2 separate regions of the Homo sapiens genome follow, and region 2 is linked to region 1. Evidence: promoter capture Hi-C in human tissues and cell types (Jung and others, 2019). All regions are on one chromosome and are shown on one strand. Each heading gives the region's core, a stretch centred on a gene start or on the middle of the fragment in contact. The rest is flanking DNA. Distances are from core to core; before and after follow the strand shown.

Evidence for each region. Contacts are between HindIII fragments. The study calls those that stand out against the background at their distance.
Region 2: a fragment that was not itself captured here is called in contact with the fragment with the promoter of SLC15A5 in region 1 in 2 of the 25 tissues and cell types used here (H1 embryonic stem cells and small bowel).

The regions. Positions count from the first base shown.
Region 1 is chr12:16,276,417-16,282,119 of GRCh38, forward strand. SLC15A5 (solute carrier family 15 member 5) reads right to left here and starts at 1,269. Exons shown (of 9, transcript NM_001170798.1): 1 at 909-1,269. The coding sequence starts at 1,269. LOC101928362 (a long non-coding RNA gene) reads left to right here. Exons shown (of 11, transcript XR_001749028.1): 11 at 1-109. The HindIII fragment of the contact is 12,619 bases long and covers 1-5,703 here.
Region 2 is chr12:16,340,538-16,345,612 of GRCh38, forward strand. No RefSeq gene overlaps it. Among named protein-coding and RNA genes, the nearest start is that of MGST1, 4.6 kb to the right of the region's middle. The HindIII fragment of the contact is 4,250 bases long and covers 1,510-5,075 here.

The sequences.
Region 1 (5,703 bases), core at 19-2,518:
TTGACCCCCATCACATTTGTACCTTTATTTAGTTGCCTTACAGCTTTTCACTTGTTCTCTCCTGAATTGGCACTTTATTGCTTAAACCATCATCCTGAGATTTTCTGATCTCTCTCTATTTAATTCCTCACTGTGGTTGTCCATCCTGTATTGCAGAATAGCATTTCTCAAATGTTGTTTTCATGATATTTTCAGAGACTTCTTGTTGCTTAAGAAGAATAACTTGAACTTTTCAGTTTAAAATTCTAGTCTGTTCTTCAAGTTGCTCTCTATTTCTTATTAAACTATCTTGATATTTTCCCAGCATTTCTCACAATCGGTCCCAAACTTTTGCAGATATATATTAGTATATATGTAAAGATGCACACTATAGTGTCTAATTTACTCATTTCTAAAGCATATAATCATAGTTAAAAATATAGAAATCATGCCATCATATGCAATCTTAATTACTATATGACTAATTAAAAGACCACCTTTGGATAAAAACATTTCTCAATTATTTTACATGAACTTCAAAAACCTTTTTTAGCACATTTCATCTTAGTTGTGAAGCAAATACATTTCACATTTCTGAGGGAATTTGTCATGAATTTAGGCTTGAGGTAAAAAGGTTTTGGGAAAGGAGGGCATTCTAAGGAGTAAGATAGATATGTAAAGGAGTAATTATTATAAAATATAAATGCAATGATATAGGCACAAAACATTCTCTAACACACACACACACACACACAGACTTACTAGCATTCTTCAAATAGTACAAAGAATGAAATACATTGAACCCACATTCTTACTTCATTTATCACATTTTATGCTAAGAGCAGAGTGAAAATAATATAAACTAAAAATTCTAACAAAAATCTACTTAATTAAGTCACAAAACAATCCAGTCAGCAGAGGACACTCACCTAGAAAATGTAGAAACAAGCAAATGTACACCAGTTTGTTTCTTCCTAAATAGACATCAGTGAGCCATCTGACAAACACAGGGGTAAGTATTGAAGTTCCAATAAAACACAAGTTTAAGATGGCTGCTTGGCAATTGTGATAGCCAAGCTTGATAGTGCAAAAGGGGATCATGTTGCAGACGACTTCAAAGAACGTGAACCTCTCACACAGCTCCACCAGAAGCAAGCAGATTCCAACCTGAATTTTTTTCACAGAGTGTGAGGAACACAAATCGCCAATATGTCTTACAGTTTTCTCCTTCTCAATGCTGTGATATAAGTGTACTTTCTCATCAGTTATGGTAAAGCCTGTAACAGACATGACTACCCTCCTTGAACAAAACTTATGTTAGTGGTTTGAACTTGGTGATATTTTGAGCCCCATCCCTCTGATGAAAAAAATAAGAACGTTGCTTTGAATTTCACATCTCCATGCTAGAATTTCATAAGGTTTGTTTTTTGCACATGGACGTTGTTCCTTTTGATGATCCAAGAGCATGAGTATTTAAATGTTCACAGTAGCTCAGTGTACCCAAATCTGATTTGTTTGCTTAATTACTTAGCGGCTAAATTAGGATCGTCCTCCAAAATTGTATTGAATTACATGAATCCAGTTGCAAACATGTGGAAACTCATCTGCCTCATACTGATAAAGGTTTAAATATTGAGGCAGAAGAAGCAGGTTTTCGGGAGAATTTGAGCACTAGATCAAGAAATAATTTGAGTCTAATAATTTCTGATACTTTAATTAAACAAGCCAGAACAGTACCAAGAGATAAAGCGCAAAAGGAAATCTGTTTTGAAGGGCACGATATCTTATCATTATTACATTTCTTGTTATTTTTGGTTGGAATTCTGATAAGAAACTTAATTAGGTAACAAAAGTGCTAGTACATTTAGGTAACAAGCAGAGTTTACAAGAAAGTAATTTAAGTGCACTAATGAAAGGAGAAAATATTAAACGAAACCCTGCTTCCTTTTAGTTGACCCCATGCTTGTAGAACAGCCTCTCAGAGGAAATCAGAATCAAAAGGTGCTATTTAACTCCTTTATTATTAATCAGTAGTCAGGGATACAGCAACCAGCCTACACAGGCTTTGGGGAATATTGGATCTGGTATCACCCTGACCCTTCAGCTGGGTGAATGGGTGTTAGCATTCTATTTTGGAAAGCAGGAGGGCCAATTAAGCTAAAAAAGCAGCAGTGAAAGAGAACACCTTAACATTTAGTGGCTTAGCTGCAAGGACATAGGAAGAAAAGGGACCGGAACTATTGGGTCAAAGTCATAATAATTCAACACTTGAGTATAGGAATGTTATTTTCATGCTGTAGTCAAAACCTAAAGACCAATAGGGACTTTTGACTCTGGTTATCATCTTTTGGTTGTGAGAGACTGGGGGCAAAATACTCTGTTTTGACCCCTTCTAATAGCCTCATTGTAATGGTAGCTATTTGTCTCTGCTCAGCATTGCTACTTTGGTAACGATGCCCTAAATTTCCTTTGTGTAAATTGATCATGCAATTTATGATCCAAACTTGGACAGTTTTGTGCAGGTGAAAAGTGATGCTATTTATGGTTACTCCCCAAAAAAAAAAAACAGTTATAAACTGGGACTGTCCAGGGCAACACTCTAACATGTGTTCACCCTACCTTTGGAGAATGACTCCTATCTATTACCTGAGATCATGGTGGGGCTGTTGATCAGCATATGCCTTTTCTTCTAACCAAGTGGGTCAACACCCGGTCTAAGATAGTCCTTTTACTTTTCTCCTGTGGAATTTTAATCTTGAGTGGAATGACTTAAGAATGGGCATGGTGGCAGCTGAGTTATTCAGATGGCAGTGTATTAGTCTGTTTTCATGCTGCTAATAAAGACATATCCGAGACTGGATAATTATAAAGGAAAGAGGTTTAATGGACCTACAGTTTCACCTGGCTGGGGTGGCCTCACAATCATGACGGAAGGCAAAAGGCATTATCTTACATGGCAGCAGGCAAGAGAGAAAAATCGTAGCCAAGCGAAAAGGGAAACCCCTTATAAAACCATCAGATCTAGTGAGACTTATTCACTACCATGAGAACAGTATGGGGGAAACTGCCTCCATGATGAAAATACCTCCCACTAGGTCCCTCCACAATACTTGGGAATTATGGGAGTTACAATTCAAGATGAGACTTGGGTGGGGACACAGTCAAATCATATCAGCAGTACCCAAAAGGGACTGCCCATGAGGCCCTGATGAACTCAGCACCTCCCTGATACTTTTTCTTCTGGAGCTACGATTACTTTTTCCTTCTGTAGAAGGCTCAAAGAATTCCCATTAATTTTGGTTTGATTTAGTTAGCCCCATTTGGCTTGTGTGGCTTACAAAGAACCCTAAATGATACTTTACTTTTTTGTTTACCCTAGATGCAAGGGCAAGCTGTTCTCTAGCCACTGGCTGATTTCTTTAGACCCTGACAAAGTGCTCCTTCCTAAGCAGAGTAGCACTGCTCTTTCCCAGGGCCTGATGATGATCCCATCTGGATTGTTTGGCTCCTCTCTGTATACTTGCTCAAGATCAGGCTCCATTTGCATTTGAGCCTGATCTTGAGCAAGTATACAGAGAGGAGCCAAACAATTCAGACTGGCCATCAGAGAAATGCAAATCAAAACCACAGTGAAATCTCACACCAGTTAGAATGGTGATCATTAAAAAGTCAGGAAACAACAGGTGCTGGAGAGGATGTGGAGAAATAGGAACACTTTTACACTGTTGGTGGGACTGTAAACTAGTTCAACCATTGTGGAAGTCTGTGTGGTGATTCCTCAAGGATCTAGAACTAGAAATACCATTTGACCCAGCCATCCCATTACTGGGTATATACCCAAAGGATTATAAATCTGCTGCTATAAAGACACATGCGCACGTATGTTTCTTGCGGCACGATTCACAATAGCGAAGACTTGGAACCAAGCCAAATGTCCAACAATGATAGACTGGATTAAGAAAATGTGGCACATATACACCATGGAATACTATGCAGCCATAAAAAATGATGAGTTCATGTCCTTTGTAGGGACATGGATGAAACTGGAAACCATCATTCTCAGCAAACTATCGCAAGGACAAAAAACCAAACACCGCATGTTCTCACTCATAGGTGGGAATTGAACAATGAGAACACATGGACACAGGAAGGGGAACATCACACACTGGGGCCTGTTGTGGGGTGGGGGGAGGGGGGAGGGATAGCATTAGGAGATACACCTAATGCTAAATGACGAGTTAATGGGTGCACCACACCAATATGGCACATGTATACATATGTAACAAAACCTGCACGTTGTGCACATGTACCCTAAAACTTAAAGTATAAAAAAAAAAAAAGCATTACAAATCAGCAAGAAAAAAAAAAAAAGATCAGGCTCCAGGTGGTGGTAACCTGTGGTTTGGGGACACTTGAGTTAGTAAGAGCAACAGCATTTGCCGTCTTTGGAGGGGATATTTGGTAACCCTCCAAGAGAGCCACCTATTTAGAAATAAAGTTTATTTTAGTTATCTGTAAGGGGGAAAAATCTGACTTCAATAGGGACATAATAGTTAGCCAATAGGATATTCATTTAAGTGGGAGTTAGGAGAACTAAGTTATATTCCTGCCCCTTTATCACTTAAGGCAAATTTCTTCCTGTCTATGAGCCTATTACATTAACTGCAAAATACAAACAGTAAAGCCTGTCTCAGAAGATCATTTCTGAGGCTTGGTATAAAAAACGGCTTATGAAATGTCAAGAATTGCACATGGAAATGCCTTTGTTATTACTTGCTTCTATATTCCTGCATTTTCTAGCTACTCTAAGCAATGAGCCATAAAGAAATGTCATGGAACCACTTCCAAATTCCAGTTTGCACAAGAGACAGACGTTAGGAGGCCTGGATTATGCGGAATAGAGTTGAAGCAATGGGAAACCACCGCCTTTTTATTTGTCACATCCCTACTAGTTCTCAATACAAAGTTCACAGTGAGCTCAAAGGACAAGTAGTAATTCCATTTGAGAATAATACTTGGCAGAGTATATTGAATGTCATCATCTTTATCAACAGACTTGGGCCCTTGAGTAAGACTTATGCATACTTTAGTTTTATGCAAACCCCTCCCCCATTCCAACCCAGGCTTGTTCTCTGTCCCTGCCTCTTCTCTCTGTTATAAAGTGATATTTTTCTCCTTTATAGAGGCAGTGTATGGAATGTACGTAAGTTGGATACAATTTGGAAAACATCTAAAAATAGAAGAAAAACCATGGAAGTTTTTGAAGCATTTTGTTGGATGTTTTCTCCCCATGGCTTGTTCTCTTTATTAGTAGATTTAACATATTTAAATTGTATAATTGTATACAATTATTGTTCAATAAATTTTCTACCCCATTTGTAGGTACTGTTAAAAAGCATTTTAACCTGCCATTATGAACTCTTTGTAAACATAGTTTTTTATGGTTGCATTAATGGAGACATAGTTTACTTAACTATTCTTCCATCGTTGGTTAGTTATATTTGTTTCAGATTGGTTATAAGCCAGCCTTTGTCAAACGTTTGACCATGAACCCACAGTTGAGAGAAAAAAAACCTTTATAAATAATGCTGAAATGAATATTTGTGCATAAGGCTTTCCCCATTCCCTGATTATATCCTTAGGATGGTTTTTCAGAAGCAATATCACTGCCTAAAAGTATGAGAAAGTGTTTCGGTTTCTTGATATATAATGCAAAATTACAAT
Region 2 (5,075 bases), core at 2,385-4,884, 66 kb after region 1:
CACAATAAATGTCCATATTTTTGGGGTATATGTGATAATTTAATACATTCATTAATTTGTAAAGATGAAATCAGTTTGGATGCTCTTTCTTTCTTTCTCTTGCCTAATTGCTCTGGTCAGGACTTCTAGTGTTATGTGGAATAAAAGTGGTGATAGTGGGCATCCTTGTCTTGTTCCAGATCTTAGAAGAAAGGATTTTAATTTTTCCCTGCTCAGTATGATACTAGCTGTGGGTTTATCTTATATGGGCTTTATTATTTTGAGGTATGTTCCTTCTATACCCAGTTTGTTGAGGGGTTTGCTTTGTTTTGCTTTTTAGAGATGGGGGTCTCACTATATTGCCCAGGCTGGTGCCTCGAACCCCTGTGCTCAAGGGTTCCTCATACCCCAGCCTCCTGAGTAGTTGAGACTATAGGCATGTGCCACCACACGCTTGTCTAAGGGTTTTATATATATACATATATCTGTATACATATGTGTGTGTATATATGTATACATATATACACACACATATATGTATACATATATACACATATATGTATACACATATACACACATATATGTATACATACACACACATGTATACATATACACACATATGTATACATATACACACACATGTATACATACACACATGTATACATATGCACACACATATGTATACATATATACACACATATATGTATACATATATACACATATATATGCGCATATATATGTATACATATATACACATATATATAAAATAAGTAATGTTGAATTTTATTGAATGCTTTTCCAGTATCTATTGAAATGATCATGTTTTTTTATTCTTGGTTCTATCAATATGATATGTCATGTTTATTGATTTATGTATGTTGAACCATTCTTGCATCCCTGGGATGAATCCCACTTGATTGTGACAAATTATCTTTTTCAGTGTGTTGTTGAATTTAGTTTGCTAGTATTTTGTTGAAGATTTTTGCCTCTATGTTCATCAGTGATATTGGCCTGTAGCTTTCTTTTCTTGTCTCCTTGTCTGCTTTTGGTATCAGGGAAATCCTGGCCTCATGGAATTAGTTTGAAAGTGTTCCCTCTTATTTATTTATGTATTTATTTATTTATTTTTGAAGAATTTGAGTAGAATTGGTCCTTCTCTAAATGTTCAGGTAGCATTCAGTAGTGAAGCCATTAGGCCTTGGGTTTCCCTTTGATGGGAGACTTTTTATTATAGCATCAATCTTGTTACTCGTTAGGGGTTTGTTGAAGTTTTCTATTTCTTCCTGGCTCAATGGTGATAGGCTATGTGTGCCCAGGAATTTATCCCATTTCTTCTAGATTTTCCAATTTGTTGGCATGTAGTTGTTCATAATAGTCTCTAGTGATTCATTATATTTCCATAGTCTCAGTTGTTGTGTCTCCTTTTTGTTTCTTTCTTTTTTTTTTTTTTTTTTTCCAGACACAGGGTCTCACCTTGTCACCCAGGCTGGAGTGCAGTGGCACAATCATAGCTCACTGTAGCCAAAAACTCCTAGGCTCCTGTGATCTTCCACATAGCACCCTCCATGTAGCATCATCACACCTGGCTAATGTTATTATTATTATTATTATTATTTTTGTAGAGATGAGGTCTCCCTATGTTGCCCAGACTGATCTTGAACTCTTGGCCTCAAGTGATCCTCCCACTTCAGTCTTCCCAGTGGTGGGATTACAGGCATGCGCTACTTGTTTCTGATTTCATTTATTTGACTCTTCTCTCTGTTTTTCCTAGTCTAGCTAAAGGTTTGTTGATTATCTTTTCAAAAAACCAACTTTTTATTGTATTGATCTTCTGTGTTTTTTTTTAGTCTCAATTTCATGCAAATTTCAGCTCTGATCTTTATGATTTCTTTCCTTCTACTTATATTGAGGTTTGGTTTGTTTTCTTTTCTAGTTCCTTGAGGTGCATCATTAAGTTATTTAAAGTCTTTCTACTTTTTTGATATACATGTTTATTGCTATAAACCTTTTTTCTTCATTCTGCTTTTGTTGTATCCTATAGATTTTGTTATGTTGTATTTCCATTTTCTTTATTTTAAGAAATTGTTGTTTCCTTCTCAATTACTTCAATGACCCATTGGTCATCCAGGAACAAGTTGTTTAAGTTTCATGTGTTTGTGTATTTTCTGAGGTTCCTCTTGTTATTGATTTCTAGTTTTATTCCATTGTGATCAGAAAAGATACCAGGAATGATTTCTACTTGTTTGAATTTGTTGAGACTTGTTTTGTGGTCTAAGAAATGGTCTATTTTAGAGAACTCATGTGCTGATGAAAAGACTGTATTCTGCAGCAGTTGGGTGAAATGTTCTGTAAATGTCAGTTAGACCTACTTAGTCTAGAGTATAGTTTAACTTTGATGTTTCTTTGTCGATTTTCTGTCTGGAAGATCTGTCCATTAATGACAGTCAGGTGTTGAAATCCCTACTATTATTGCATTGCAGTCTATCTCTCCATTTATATCTATTAATGTTTGTTTTATATGCTTAGGAGTGCCAGTGTTGGGTGCATAGATATTTATAATTGTTTTATCTTGCTGAATTGACCCCTTTATCAATTTACAGTGACCTCTTTGTCTCTGTTTGTTTTTAGTTTGCAGTCTATTTTATCTGATATAAGTATAGTTACTGGGGAGTGATTAAGTCATGAAGGTGGAGCTGTCGTGAATGGGATTAATACCTTTATAAAAGAGGTTGAAGGGAGCTCCCCTGCCCCCTCCGTCATGTGAGGAAGCAGCAGGAAGGAGCAATCTTACAAGCAAAGAGCAGCCCTGGCACACACCAAATCTGCTGGTGCCTTGATCTTGGACTTCCCAGCCTGCTGAACTGGGAGAAATAAATTTTCTGTTGTTTATAAATTACCCAGTCTAAGGTATTTTGTTATAGCAGCCTGAGCAAACTAAGCCATGCTCCTTTCCAGCTAATCACTGCCCCCACCCCATTAGAAACAACCACTATTATCATTTTGATTATTATACATTAGTTTTGTTTATTTTTTAATTTAATGTAAATGAAATCATACTCTTTTGGGTCTGGTTTCTTTTGCTTGGTGTAATGTTGAAATTTAGTTAGATATTTTTGTGTGTATCAGTAGTTTCTTACTTTTTTATGTGATGTAGTTAGCATTTCCTTGTATGAATATACCGCAACTTGTCTTTGCACTCTTCTGCTGATGAACATTATGGTTTTTCCAGTTTTTGGTAAGTATGAATAAAGCTATTAAAATCATTCTTGAACAATCTTTTTGGTGGCCATATGCTTTCATTTCTCTTGGGTGAATACTGTATTTAGAAGCAGAATTGTTGGATTATAAAACAGTTCTATGTTTATTTCATAAGAAACTATGAGACAGTTTTACTATTTGATTCCATTTTATACCCTCACTGGCAATGTATGATGGTTTCATTTGCTCCACAGCTTTGCCAATGTTTGATTTTGTTTGTCTTTAATTCTTGCCTTTTCAATTTTTGGGAAGAAGCAAATCGTTGTGGTTTTGATTTGCCTATCTGTGAAGACTAATGACATTGAATACCTTTTCATGTGCTTCTTAGTCATTCATATATCTTCTTTTGTGAGTGTTGAAATATTTTGAATATTTTCAATTTTTAATTTTCTACTTTTGTCTCAATTATTGTCATAGGTGTTCTTTTGCATACAAGTTCTTTGTCAGATACATGGTATTGGGAATATTTTCTCTCAGTCTCTGGCTTTCCTATTTATTTTCTTAATAATGTCTTTTGATGAAGTTCAATTTATCAGTTTTTTTTTGTTTTATAGATAATTTTTTGTTTCCTGCCTAAAACGTCTTTACCGACCCCAAGGTCATGAAGATAATCGAGGTTTTCTTCCAGAGGCTTTATAGTATTAGCCTTGAGGTCTGTGATTCAGCTTGAATTTTTGTGTATGATGTCAGTTAAGGGTCAAAGTTCAATTTTTTTACCATGTGGCTATTCAGTGGTTCCAGCCCCTTTTGTTGAAAGCTTTCCTTTCTTCAGTGAATTGTCTTGGCACCTTGTTGAAAATCAATTGATCAATTAAATATAGTTCTATTTCTGGATTCTATTCTATTCTTTTGACCTATTTGTCTATCCTTATACCCTTACTATACTCTCTTGATTAGCTTCAAGAATTTTTATCATTTTTTAGTTCTGTTCCTTTCATCGTGGCTACTTTTGCCTCTTGACAATATTAGCTTAAGAGTTTATTTCAGAAGTTAGCACAGCTTTCAGGCTGCTGTGTATCTCAGAGTGTCTGTCTAAAAAATAGGAAAAATAAGAACTCCCTTATAGGGTTATTGGGAGAAATAAACAATCTAGTATACATGTTTAAAATGTATTATAACTCTAAAATAATCCTTAAGTGTTCAGAATATTGCTTATTTTTGTTTCACTTTTTGCTCTCTTGACCTTAAAACATATTCTTATGCAAGTTTACTGAAATCCCCCAGTAAGTTTCAGATTGTGGCAGGGCACCTGTTCTGTGGATTTAGGGAAAAACAAAGGCCCCAATATAATTGAGGGGAGTGACAGGCACCTGTTTTCTTCCTATTTACAGCAAGCCTTAACAGAAGGTGATGGCAATTCTTTCTGCCATTTTTACTTTGTCTGTTTTAAAAACAGACAAAGGTATTACTGGACTTCCAATGCTTTGCTCTTCCAGATATTTCTAATTTGATCCCCTGAACAGTCTGCTTTTTTTTTCTTTATTGTGGTAATTCCTTTTTCAGATGAATGACCTTTGCTCTCCTCACCCCAAATCAATGACCTTTTAAACTGTTTTAATATTTACTAGGGAATTACTTGTTCTGAGGCTTGGATTGAGTTTCTCTAAAAGATGGTATTCTAGAATTTAAATGGTGGTGAGAGGAAGGGTTGAAAAGCTGAATCCATTCTTTTACCCAGACGAAACTAAGCTGAATAACAACTCTCTCTCTTTCTCAATCATTTAAGAGCTTATAACAAAGATGAATATAAAGTGTCAATTATTTTACAACTTTTACCTGTTACCGCCCTAGTTCACACCCCAACTGTCATTCTTATTTCTAAATGGAAACTTTCCTTC